4 separate regions of the Homo sapiens genome follow, and regions 1, 2 and 3 are each linked to region 4. Evidence: promoter capture Hi-C in 16 types of primary human blood cells and fetal thymus (Javierre and others, 2016). All regions are on one chromosome and are shown on one strand. Each heading gives the region's core, a stretch centred on a gene start or on the middle of the fragment in contact. The rest is flanking DNA. Distances are from core to core; before and after follow the strand shown. Region 1 overlaps NHS (NHS actin remodeling regulator). Region 2 overlaps NHS (NHS actin remodeling regulator). Region 3 overlaps NHS (NHS actin remodeling regulator). Region 4 holds the start of NHS (NHS actin remodeling regulator).

Region 1 (3,376 bases), core at 414-2,913, 240 kb after region 4:
TTAGTTCTGAGAGCAGAAGGAAGGACTTGCCTTTGCTTGAAGCCAAAACCAATCTGAAACCACAGAACCTCAGCCTGAGGGCTAGGGCTAGGCAGAAAGCTTGCTTTTGAAACCTGAGCTCTCCTTGCAACGGTGGTGGGGGTGGGGGTGTTGGTGTATGTTCCACTTGTACAAGCAAACCCTCTCATAAGTTTGACCCTGAAAAAATTACATAATCCTTTCATCACAGCGGGTTACATTTTCCAAGGGCAGAGCTTTGACTTACAACTGATTATAGGTGTATTGTTAGGACTCCAGCACCCATGCTTGATATGTGTTTGTTTCATTTCCAGTGTTACATGTATTAAGTGTCAACAATCTACACTCATGCTACCTCACGTTTGAAAATTAACTCAGGAAGTCACAAAATGAACTTTTTCCCCTCCTTAGCAATTTCCCATCTTCATTGTGTGATAAAGGTTTTTGCTAACAGCCAAGTACCACACTAGACATTAGGTAGGTTCATGGGCCTGTGGTCTGTTATCAATGTCTTGTGTTAATCCAGGCTTTCTTCCAAAGAGTTTGCAGTGCTTTTTTTCAGACATCATATCATGTCACATCTCTCCTTCCTCCTGTGTTCCCTAATCTCACTTAATGACAACACCATGAGCTCCTTTCCCTCTTCCCTTACTTCCCTGATAGCTTAATATTCCTCCACTATGCCTTTTGCATCTTCCCTCTCTTTCTCACTTTTTCTTTCCCTGTCCCAGGGCAGGCTCTTGTCATTCATACATATATATATATATGTGTGTATATATATATGTATATATATATATACACACATATACATATGTGTGTATATATATACGTGTATATATACTATATATATACGTATATATATAGTATATATACACATATATACGTATATATATACGTATATATACACATATATATACGTATATATATACACATATATACACATATATATATATATATGGTCTCACTCTGTTGCCCAGGCTGGGGTGCAGTGGCACACTTATGGCTCACTGTAGCATCAGTCTTCTGGGCTCAAGTGATCCTCCCACCTCAGCCTTCTGAGTAGCTGGGACTACAGGTGCATGACAACACACTCGGCTAATTTTTTTTTTTTTGTGGAGATGAGGTTCCTCCATATTGTCCAGGCTGGTCTCCAACTCCTGGGATCAAGCCTCCTACCTCGGCCTCCCAAAGTGCTGTGATTACAGGCGTGAGCCACTGCACCCAGCCATGCTCTTGCTGTTTCTTGCTTGGAGTATTGCCATGGTCTCCATGAGCCCATCACTCCTCTCCTCCAAAACCACACTAGTCTCAACTGATTCACTTGTCGTTTGGTCCCTTTGGACTTTTCAAACCTCATCTGTCAGGACCTCTCTCCCTTTTCCCCCACACCATTCCCTGAACGCACTATCCATTTACATGCATTCCTTGGCTCAGCTGTTTACATCATCTGCACTGCCCACCCCCCCACCCCACCGACAACATCCTGCATGCCTATCACAGTTCATCTTAAGTGTTACTGCATGGAAAGCCCACCCTGATTGATATCCATAGGCAGAATTCATCACTGTTCACCCTTATGCTCTGGGAGCCCTTTATTGTGAGCTCAATTTCAGCATTTAGTTCAGTCTAACTTTAAAAAAATAGTTAATTACGTGCTTGAAAACAATTAGATTGCAAACCCCTTGAGCCAGGGACTATGTCTTATTTGTCTCTGTGGCCCACTATAGCAACCAGCTAGTGGCCTGGCCCTAATGACAACCTGGTAAATGAACAGAGTGAGCGATATCCCTGTATCAAAGGTAAAGAAAGATTAGCATTTGCTGCTGTAAGGATGGCTAAAGGGATTCATTTGTCCAAAGTCCTTCAAAGGGCAAGTCAAGTTGAGACACTGTCACTTCTGTCACAATCCCCAGTTGGCTGGGTGGCGCCACCTCTTCAGAGATCTTGGCAGTAGATTTTTGGTTGCCATTTGTTATTTTATACATTGGGTGGGTCTGTATGTATGCGCATCTGTGACAACAACTTGGCTGGGCAGGTAGATGACATCTGCTTGTGCAAATCTCTTTTCATTCTTGAATATAGTTGTACCTTAGAAATACAATGCAAAACACAGATGTCATTTAAAAATATCTAATAATGAAATTACAAAAGTAAAAAGAAGCAGGTGATGTTAGTTTTGATTATGTGTTTTATTTAGCCCAAATGTCCAAACTATTACCATTTCAAAATGCAATCAATATTTTAAAATTATTAATGCGATGTTTCATATTTTTTGTATTGTCTTCAAAATCCCATATCCATTGCACACGTGCAGTGCATCTTAATTCAAATGCTTAATTTTCATCAGAAATACTTGATATGTATTTAGATTTCATAAAATTTACAGTTGAAAAAGTAGATACACATATCCAAATTCTTCCAAATGTATTTAAAATTTTCCCAATAACTGGATTTAATATCAGCCTGTACATTTACATTTGAATTAATTAAAATTAAACAAAATTTTTAAATTCCATTCTTTGGACATACTAGCCTTGTTTCAAATGCCCAATAGCCACATGTGACTAGTAGCAATTGTTTCGGGGCATACAGTCTTAGGGCACAAAGATTTCTAAGTATCATTCAGCTTATTCCTCTGTCCTCGTAATTTAATTGTAAAAGAAAAAAAAGTGTGACAGGGATAGTTATTAGAGACCTTCGATTAGCCAGCTGCCTTTTCTCTCCAGCCTTGCCATCAGCTTTGTGAAACTGGGGCCTACTGCTGGCTTCCCGGGACTGTCGTGAAAGTAATAGGATTCTGTTGACAAAGCACTTGAAAATCCAGGGATGAAAGGGCCTGTGTAATTCCCGGGTTTGTTGGCCAGGCTAGGCTGTGAATTGGGGTCTGCGTCTATACTGCAGCTGCCCCTACGCAACCACACTGATCTGTGCTTCCTTCTGCAGCCAAGGTCTACACCAGCATCTCACAGCACATGAGTCAACTGCATGTTTTATCGTCCACAGCACCGGGATGCCATGTTTTTAGATGCTCATGGCTTTGATTAGATTATAACATATTTGACGTTTCAGTGCTTAACTGCTTTTGGGTGATCAAATATGTGGAAAACATCTTTCTCAGCCAAATAGCATATTTTCCAAATCCAAAAGAATTGAATATATTTTTCGCCTTCCTTCAAGTTTCCCATTGAATGTCACCCCAGAGACCAATTTAAAGCTTGAAAAGTTTAGACCAAAAATGTTTGGGAACAAATGAAAATGAGATGTGTCACCTAAGCCAGTATCCAGTCGGTGTCTCATGCAAAACTGTGAAAGCACTCGGTATTATTTATTTATAATAGGAAACTGGGGTTAGGAATTG
Region 2 (3,223 bases), core at 70-2,569, 200 kb after region 4:
CAGTCATGTATATATTCACCCTCCAATAATTTAATATTACAGAAAGTGAACCAGAATTCAGCTTTGCACCTTTGGAAGTTAATTTCTTCTTTGTATGATTACTAGAGATATTCTCTGATAAGGGTAACGAGATGTATAGATTTGGTCTCTTCCCACCTTGCTGACATTCCTTGAATTTTTCTCAGGAAGACTGATCCAAGGCAAATCACATTTTTTCTCATCACCCCACCTTTGTCCTGGCCAAAGGGTGAACTATGGGAAGATCTCATGGGTGGTGTTCTAAACAACTTTCCCTTGATTAAATAACCCTTCTCCCAAGGGCTACTTGTGTGGGTTAAATTACTTAAAAATAAAACAAACAATCCAGAGTAAGAGAATTAGTTTGAAAAACAGAAGGTTACCAACAGCCTTGCCCTGTACAGCTGGAAAAGATGTGAAACGCACAGGCTCTAAGCACCCAAGAGGATAAATAAACGTGTCGCAGGTGCCATTAAGAAAACACATCTGCACACTGTCAATGGTGAGGATAAACACACGATTGTTTTCCCTTTCATGAGAAGCAGTGATGGGGAAAGGCGACTTATGGACCCTATCCAGTTCTGTTCAATTTACAGCATCTCAAGGTTGAGGGATGGGCACTTATCCAGCCTTGATGCATTCCCAAAATCTCTCATCAGAAGCAAATCTTCAAAGAAAACAAATAGTATGTTCATTCTCCTCCCAGTGCACAGACAGGAGAACAAACAAGGAAAGAAAGAAAATGCCCTAAAGGTTATCTGGTGGACCTCAGTTGCCCGAGATTGTGATTTTAGACCCGACATCCTTCTCTGGTTTTCCTCCTTCTCCTAATCCCCCTGCCAGTAGGAAGATCAAATGGAACTGACATAAATATCCTTCCCAGCTGTTAAGTGTAGCCATTGTTTCTTCTTTTAACACTACACTACACTCCAAACTTCCAGGGTCCATCAACTTCCCTAGTGTCTTAATGAAGTAGATTATACATTTTTATGAACCATAATCAGAATTCATGAAAGATAACTAGGAGCCTAGGGAATTATGATGGATCCATTCAAATCCTCATGGACTTAATTTGAGAAAAGGTTCAAATGCACAAGAAAATAAAGGCGACTTTTGGAGATGCCAGGCACCTGGAACCTCTGTGCTTTGTATTTCTCGGGTTACTGATAGTTTGCTATAGAAGTCATGAGTTGAATCTTCTTCATTTTTATTAGATCAAATGCCTCTTATATTATGTGCCTAAATTGGAAAATGGAATATGATGAATGTCTTACACCAGGCTTAGAGTCAAACATCTATATGCCCTTAGCCACCTGAATTTTAACATTTGATCTAAAGTGGATTAAATATCCACTTTAAATTGAAATACCCACTTTAAATTGAAAACCTCAATTTTTCATACTAATAGAAGGTGGCCAAAAAAACCTGCCAACACCTCAGAAATCATTCACATTTGACTTTGGAAAGTGTTCCTGGTTTATTGGCTGACATGCTGAAAGTTGGCTCTAAAGATAATAATGAAGAAATATGGAAACTGACTCAGAGTTAGAAGCCTGTCTGTGTCTACCTCATTCTGTCTTGTCTCCCTTCCTCTACTTTCTGTACTTCATCAAACTCTTTCCATTTTCTCATCTTTAAAAAGGGATAGGAGTGTTTTGGCAGGGTGGTTAAATGAGAATGTTTCTAAGGACTCCTCCAGTACTATAGTTCTGCAGTTTAATAGAACATATATGCCCTGATATAACTTCCAGCTATTCATTCATTCATTCAACAAACTTGTTTGTGTGAGTGCCTGTTAGGTGTTACTGTGCTAGCCATGAAACTAGCACCATTCTTGTCCTAGAAATAATATAAAATATGTTTGTTAAATATGTAGTAAGCATTTCATAAATGCTCTTGAAGGGTGTACACAATAGAGGCTATAACAGCTTCTCTGAACAATCCTGTGGTTAATGATGTTCTTTAATTATGCCAACATCCAATACCTCATGTTAAAGACTTTTAGCATTTTCCAGATGTTGGAAATGATCAGAAAATTGTATATTCTCAGTAACTATGAAGAATAATCTGAGTTCTTAGTTGTGGGTGCTGAGGCCCAAGAGGTATATCCTTCATCAAGGTTACATGTGGGTAGAGGTAGATGCCTCCTGCATCCCAGCATTGGGTTAGTTAGCTAAGAAAGTAGGCTCGAGGCCCAACTGCCGGGGTTCCAATTCTGTCTCTGCCACCTATAGGTTAAGTGATCTTGAGGAAGTCATTTAACTTCTCTGTGTTTTAGTTTCCTTCTCTGTGAAGTGGGGCTGGAATAGTAACTGGCTGCATAGGGTGTATGGATTCAGTGAGTTCCTATATATCGAAATACTCAAGAGTGTAAACAGTATAGTTTCATGTGTAATAACAGCCATTAGCAACAAGAAGTAAGGCTGGACTGTTTTCTCACATATGGCAGAAATTCAATTGGTGTTATAAAATAATCAAAACTGGTAAATAGCCAGTTCTTAGATCTATCTGTCCAAGATATTTCATGAGCAGATTGTATTTCCACAAACAAAGAAAAACCTGTTTACAACTGTACCTGGCATATAGTAAGTGCTCAATAAGTGTTCGCTAGTATCTTGCGGCACTGCTCTCATCTCCTGCAGTGTTGGAGAGGGTGTTTGAAGCGCTTTATTGGAGTCAAAGGATAATGCTCCCACCCCCTGACTCTGTGCGCATGTGTGTGAGTGTGTGTGTATGTGTGTGAGTGTGTACCAGTGTACAAAAAGGTGTGTTGTAGTGGAAAATCAAGTAACTCACTCAGTAAATTATCTCAGCCAAAAGTTCAGTTGCAGGAAATCAAATTCGGATTTGTAAGCCTGGTGAAATTCAAATTCCTTTTAAACATTTATTGCCATTTCTAGGCAAGAAACATTTCCCCTGATCATATCATTCTGGCCGGGAAGTCTTGCGTTTTAAAGCAAGTAAAAAGTGAAAAAAATAATTCTCAGTACATGACACAATTTACAGTTAGCTCCTCAGGAATGTGTGTCATGTTTTAAACTTGAGTAGGTTGATGCTCTCCAAACATCCTAGTCCTTCGTATTTATAGAGTGCTTTATTTTAGTGTGTTAACAATGAATGAGAAAAAGCGGAACTTTCTGTAGGCATTTTTTCCTGATGCTATTTTGATTTGAATGCAGCCTTGCTTCTCCTGCCTTTTTCAAGC
Region 3 (3,263 bases), core at 756-3,255, 220 kb after region 4:
ATTTCTCCTCTTAGTTTAGATGTCCCTCATATTCTCTCTAAACTCCTGTCCAACCCTTCCCTCTCAAATCTTGTTAATACTTAACCTGGGGTCAAGGTTTCTTTGGGCGCAGAACAATGAAAAGGCAATTAGCTAGCTGGCTTTGAGTGCTAAGGGAGTGAAAACTGGTTATGACTCTAACTTGAGACATTCCTAAGAGTAGGCCTTTCCTGTATGGTCAAGACTGAAAGAAATAAACGGATGTGGGCTTTTTTCTTGCCTTTAGACTTTATGGATTAGTCATAGGATCTTGTTGAAATTATTCAGTCCAGAAATAAGTGATTAACATTTAACTTCTTTAATGGGCAATTACTCAACAGCTATGCCAGTGGGTAAATATTTACTTATCATCTATTCCAAGGAGTGAATGTTAACTTGAGTCAAACAGTTACTTGTGTTGGTTCTTTAATAGCGGAAAAGTGAATTTATATGGCTCTAGGAGTTCCAATTTCCCACCAAATAAGAACTTACTGAAGGATGTTCAGAGCCCTGGGCTGGAGTTAAATTACAGACAATTTGCTTACCTACTCCCTCCCTCCAAAAAAAAAAAGATGAAGATTTTTTGTACTCACCACTATTTATTGAAATCTGGTAGCTTCAAATCTCACAAAGCCAAACAAATTCACTCAGTTTTTCAGTCTGTAGGTCTGTGACAGCCTCTGTTTACCACAAAACTGCCTGTATCTTGTCACTATGGATGCAAGTCAAGACAGAGGCAAAGTCTGGATGATGAATGGCTTGTTCTTAGTAATGTGCTTGTAATTGTTCTTCCTTAGAATGGGAAGGATGGCTTGGGAGGACCTGTCTATCATAGAGGGACTTGGCAGCTTCCAATCTCTTTGCTTGCTTGTCTACAATGCAGCCAATGGGACTAATTCAAATATCCCAGACATGCCCAGATGGATACACAGAGCATATGGCTTGAAGACTCAGTTATGGAAATAACAGGCACCATTTCTGAGACTTTCAATTCACTTCCAACAAATATATTTTAATCAACAGGCAGGAAACCAAATTAAAAGTTGAAGCATGAACCAAGGTCAAAGGTTAAGGGTTAGGATGTGGGATTTTGGTGTTCATGCTCCAGGTTTGGCCTACCATGCAGAGAGGTCAAAGATGACTGCACAGGGAACCATTGGGAGAGAGGAATGTGGTATTCCAGTTTGTAGAAAGTTTGAGAGTCTGGAATTTGGTATATTAGTCAGTGCCAGCCACTCCAAGTCTCAGGGGCTTCACACAAAGTTTATTTCTTGTTCATGTCACATTCCAGGCATGGGAGTGGGGAAGTGAGGGATCAGGACCTGTGTTCCACGCAGGCATTCAGACTCCCAGGCTCCTTCCATTTTATGACTTCCCTGTGCCCTAAGGCCTCCAAGTCCACCTCAGCTACTGCATCCAGACTGCAGATGAGGCAAAGAGAAAGTGTGGAGGATAGCGTGGAGGTTTTATGGGCCCACCTATATTCTGGCCAGAACTGTCACGTGGCCCCACTAACATGCAAGGGAGGCTGGGAAATAGAGTCATCTGTGTGCCCAAGGTGTAAAGGGAAATGTTTTGGTGTAAAACTAGCCAGTGTGTCATACACGGCTTCAGGAACTTAAGACTATTCTTCCGTTTTTTTTTTTTTTTTTTTTTGATACGGAGTCTTGCTCTGTCACCCAGGCTGGAATGCAATGGCGCGATCTCGGCTCAGTGCAAGCTCCGCCTCCCGGGTTCACGCCATTCTCCTGCCTCAGCCTCCCAAATAGCTGGGACTACAGGCGCCCGCTACCATGCCTGGCTAATTTTATTTTTTTGTATTTTTCGTAGAGACGGGGTTTCACTGTGTTAGCCAGGATGATCTCGATCTCCTGACCTCGTGATCCGCCCACCTCGGCCTCCCAAAGTGCTGGGATTACAAGCGTGAGCCACCGCGCCTGGCTATTCTCTTTTTTTTTTTTTTTTAAGAAAAAACAAAAAACTGGCAGGGGTAGGGACAAGGGATACACTCTTCCTCAGTGAGCATTTGGAAGAGAGCTGGAGAAAGAGCAAAAGAAGAGAGCAGGCTAGAAATGACTTAAAAATTAGTGGGATATTCCTGGAGAGTTGCCAAGCTAGAGGAGATTCACTTCCACTCATAATGGGAGATAAAAATTGTTCTCATTTGGGTTTATTTTTTTTCCAGGCACAGGCTTTAGAGGGTGAGTTAAACTTCCTAAAGCAAAGGATTAGATAAGAGGGAACTCAGCTTTGATTGAAGAGCCAGCTGTGTCAGAAAGTAACAGGGAGAGGAAGAGTGGGTCGAGCCACACCGCGGGTACCTGATTGTGGTGGACTCTGGAGGTTGCCTGTAAAAGGAGACACTCCTCAGGCTCCTCATTCACTAGGGATGTTCAGTGAAGAACAAACCCAAGCGAGAGAGGGTGCCCAGAATGATCGCAGGCTCATTTCTAGGAGGGTAGGACACTCCTGCTTGATTCTCTCTCTTCTCTTTCTTTTCTTTTCCTGTCTATGAATGCAGCCCTGTCTTAGTCAGCTCTTTTTGGAGGAGACCTGTGATGGAAGGGAAGGTTCTGACTGGGAGCTAGAGGAAAGGCCAGGGTTCAGGGCCTGCCCTACCCAGCAGGTAGACTCAGGGGGCTGTGTCCTGGCATGGGTCCTGACTGGATGGCACTCTCCCTCCCCAGCAATTCCAACAGGCCTTCTTGGGCGGACTCTTTTGTGGCAGTTCCTGGCAGTCCCAGATGTGGCTCGTTGTCAAGCCTCTGGACCAATGCCCGGAGCCTGTTGGGAGTCCAGACTCCAAGTCAAGAAGAACAGAATTAACTGGCCAGGCGCCAAGATAATATTTTTCCCTCATAAGCAAGAATGCTGCCTAGGAAATAAGTTTAACTCCTTTCTTATTTCCTTAACTCTTCTTTAGTCTCCTTTAAAGTAGTTAGTGATCATCAAAAGACATTTTTAAGTGTGCCCCCACAAAGAAAACTTTTATTTAAAAAACACTTATATGATGCCTACCCTGTGCCTTACACTAGCGTTGTACAAATATTAACCTATTAGATTGTCACAACAACCCACAACAAAGGTACTATCATTATCCTCACTTCACAGATAAGGGCATACAGGTGAAAAAGGCTTCATGGCTTCCCTAGGGTCATGCAGCTTACAGGTGGTAAACCTGGGATTTGAACCAAGGCAATCTAGTTTAGAGTCTATATTCACTGTATTGACCCTTTCTATATTCA
Region 4 (3,321 bases), core at 657-3,156:
ATCACTTGGGGGCAGACACTAAGGTAGCTGGCCTGTTTTTTAGCTTAATTACCCCCTTGAACCCTTTCTCTCCTGGGCCTTTGCCCTTCCTTTCTGATCACTTATTTTGGGAGCCCTGGAAGGAACTTGCCAATAATCTGAAACTCCCTTTAGGAGTGAGAGTCCCACACCACTTATTCATTGCCCCTGTCAATGCTCAGATGGGCCCGCTCCACTGGCACCCTTGCTATTAATAGGACAGTGCTAGGTAAGGGAGAGTGAGAGGCAGGGCAGCCTGTTGCCACAAGGCTTGCTAACCAGATGCCTTTAATATCCCTCATTGTTCTCCATGCTTCCATGTGTTTAGGGAGAAGTGTCTGGCTTGCCTACCCAGCAGAACTCATGTTCAGAATTTTGAACGTATTAAAAAGTCAAGCTCAATTTAAAAACAGCTAGCTCAACGCTTTTCAGATTTGTGAGATAAAAAACAAACCTTAAAAGACCTTGTTCCAAAATATTCTTTTCTTTCATTTTTTATTTGGAAACAAAACCAAATTTAAAGTTGCAAGAAATGTACAATGAACCCTGATATGCCCTTAACCTAGACTATTTTGAACATTTTGCCATATTTTGTTTTTTTCTCCCTTCATACATACACATCTTTATTATCATCATTCTTCTTCTTGTTGTTACTGAAACATTTATGTGTACTTTGCAGACATCATGGCCCTTTACCCCCAAAGCCTCAGCCTGGATCTTTTATGAACAAGGATATGTCCTTGCCGAAAATTTTGGTTTTTTTTTGTTTTTTTTTTTTTGTTTTGTAGAATAAGACAAGGGTCTGTTGAAGCCTTTAAAACCAAAGCGTGGGCCAGTCCAAAGTGCTGACTGTTGGAGCCTCCTCCCTCTCCCGCCTTTAGAGGGAGGAGAGGAGACACCACCGCAGGTCTGGAGGACTTTATTGTTGCCATAAAACATATTTTTTCCATGTTCTCTTTAGAAACACGAAAAGAGGCTGCATTCCCAAGATCTGGCTTGTGGCTTTAAAATAAAAAATATTTTTACAGTATACTTTTTGGAGGCATGAAAGCACGTGTTTTATTAACATTTCCCAAACTCTTTTTACTGACGGCATACAGCCTGCAGCCTGCTGCAATCGAAAATGCATGCCTTTTTAGAAATTATACCTTTCAGTTAACTGAAGGGGAAAACTTTCCCTTCTTCTGTAAATCATCATCTCTCTGATGGAGAACTTTAAAAATCCTGTGTATGATCAGCACAGTAGGGTGACGAGGAGGTAATGCCGTTTATCTCACCCAACGTGCAATGAGTTTCGTAAGCAGTTTTCTGGGGATTTTGCTCATTGGTGGTTTGGGTCTCATTCACGATATTCTATAGAGCCCGTGCCCAAAACAGGGGGCCACGTGATGCCTGGGAAGGGGTATAAACAGCACTCTGGCTGCTCTGGCCACATGGAGATGCGCCTACGCCCTTTGCCCTCCCCAGTTGTCTCCTTGCGTTCATAGAGCCCGGGGATCTCCAAGGAGCAGCCCAGTTTTCCCTGTAAGAACCCAAAGGTCTTGTACAGAGCTGGAATTCGGCGAAAAACTTGCTCCAACACGCCAAATCTGCCGCATCCTCAATACCCCACCCTCTTCCCTCTGCGCTTACTGCCCACACCCCTACTCCCAACTTGAGGACTCCCCGCCCCCACCACGCTGACAGTCTCAATTCCAACCCCTTGGATGTGAGGAAGTGTCTTTGCGCCTGAACGCGCCCAGCACGGCGAGGCCACCAGTGACTCCCAGCGGCCGCACAGGGCGCTGCGCCCCCCTCGCCCCGGCCTCCCCCGCCCTGCGTCCGCCCCGTCACCCCCGCGCGGCCTCCTGCGCCCGGGCTGGAGGCAGATTCCTCTCTCCGGGTTTTCAGAGCGCCTTTCCGAAACCTCCTCCCCGCCCAGCCAGGGAGAGAGATCCCGGGCGCAATCGCTCCCCGGAGCGGCCGAGGGGCGCGCGGGGAGAGGCCTGCGCCGGGGTACTTTCAAACTGAGGCGCGCGCACACACTCACACCCACCCACCCACTCACCCACACACACACAGACACACGCACGCCCATTTATATAGGCGGCGGCGACGGCAGTGGCCGGGGTGGCGACGGCGAGCACAGAAACGATGGAGTTGAGCCAGTCGACCCTGGTTGGAAGCAAGTGAGAAGAGACCAGGCGCACCCCTAAATTTCTGTGCGGAGCGCTTGTCATCCTCCCCAGGGAACGGTGCACCCAAAGGAGGACTGGCTGGACTGATTTGCTAGGGAGAGGGCGGGGAAGAGGAGGCAAGGTGAGCAGAGAAGCCCCCTGCGTATCCGGACTGCCAGATCGCGCTTTTGCCGGACTCCTGCCCCCTCCCTGCTCAGGTGGGCGCGCCCGGTCTCCAGCTCACAGGGGCGCTTGGAGGAGACCAGAAAGTCGCCGCCTGGCTGCGCGGGATGCCTTTCGCCAAGCGGATCGTGGAGCCGCAATGGCTGTGCAGGCAGCGGCGCCCTGCGCCCGGCCCAGCAGTGGACGCGAGCGGAGGCAGCGCTGAGCCGCCGCCGCCCTTGCAGCCGCCGGGCCGGAGGGACCTGGACGAGGTCGAGGCGCCAGGGCCAGAGGAGCCAGCCCGCGCCGTCCCTGCACCTTCAGGGCTGCCACCGCCGCCGCCGCCACTGCCCGCGCCGGCCGACCAGACTCAGCCGCCGCACGGAGAGGCGTCCGTGGCTGGCGAGGAGAGCACGGCGGGGATCCCGGAGGCGGCGCCCGCAGCCGGCGAGGCGTCCTCGGCGGCGGCGGCGGCGGCCGTGCTGCTCATGCTGGACCTATGCGCGGTCAGCAACGCCGCTCTGGCCCGTGTCCTCCGGCAGCTCTCGGACGTGGCCCGGCACGCTTGCAGCCTCTTCCAGGAGCTCGAGAGCGACATCCAGCTCACCCACCGCCGCGTCTGGGCGCTGCAGGGCAAGCTCGGCGGCGTGCAGCGCGTCCTCAGCACGCTTGACCCTAAGCAGGAGGCAGTGCGTGAGTACCCGCGCCGTCCGCCCGCCAGGCTATGGGTTTCTGCGCCGCACCCTCGCGCCCTCCCCAGCAGCGGCAATCCCAGCCCCGCGGCGCCGCTCCGGTTGCAGCTTGCACCTTACTACTCTCGCCTTCCCACCCTTCCCATCCCCTGGGACCCACCCCAATCCTCCTGGGGCTGAGTGGCTGGGCTGGACCCCGATTCAGTGATGCAGACGTGGACGGTGGAAAGTTAAAAGGGCGACCTCTGAAGTCGCAGGCAGCGTGGGCTGAGAAGGAGCAGAAAGGGAGCGTT

What was found. The method cuts DNA at HindIII sites, captures the fragments that hold promoters and counts their contacts. A CHiCAGO score of 5 or more calls a contact.
Region 1: a contact is called between a fragment that was not itself captured here and the fragment with the promoter of NHS in region 4, in 1 of 17 cell types (monocytes). The highest score is 5.4, in monocytes.
Region 2: a fragment that was not itself captured here is called in contact with the fragment with the promoter of NHS in region 4 in 1 of 17 cell types (neutrophils); the score reaches 5.8 in neutrophils.
Region 3: a fragment that was not itself captured here is called in contact with the fragment with the promoter of NHS in region 4 in 2 of 17 cell types (M0 macrophages and M1 macrophages); the score reaches 7.1 in M0 macrophages.

What each region holds. Positions count from the first base shown.
Region 1 is chrX:17,614,303-17,617,678 of GRCh38, forward strand. The region is part of intron 1 of NHS (NHS actin remodeling regulator); the gene reads left to right. Among named protein-coding and RNA genes, the nearest start is that of NHS-AS1, 57 kb to the left of the region's middle. The HindIII fragment of the contact is 3,133 bases long and covers 98-3,230 here.
Region 2 is chrX:17,576,211-17,579,433 of GRCh38, forward strand. All of the region lies in intron 1 of NHS (NHS actin remodeling regulator), which reads left to right. The region is part of intron 1 of LOC101928389 (a long non-coding RNA gene); the gene reads left to right. Among named protein-coding and RNA genes, the nearest start is that of NHS-AS1, 19 kb to the left of the region's middle. The HindIII fragment of the contact is 6,957 bases long and covers 1-3,223 here.
Region 3 is chrX:17,595,464-17,598,726 of GRCh38, forward strand. All of the region lies in intron 1 of NHS (NHS actin remodeling regulator), which reads left to right. Among named protein-coding and RNA genes, the nearest start is that of NHS-AS1, 38 kb to the left of the region's middle. The HindIII fragment of the contact is 8,896 bases long and covers 1-3,263 here.
Region 4 is chrX:17,373,294-17,376,614 of GRCh38, forward strand. It overlaps NHS (NHS actin remodeling regulator), which reads left to right and starts at 1,907. Exons shown (of 9, transcript NM_001291867.2): 1 at 1,907-3,029. The coding sequence starts at 2,465. The HindIII fragment of the contact is 7,271 bases long and covers 1-3,321 here.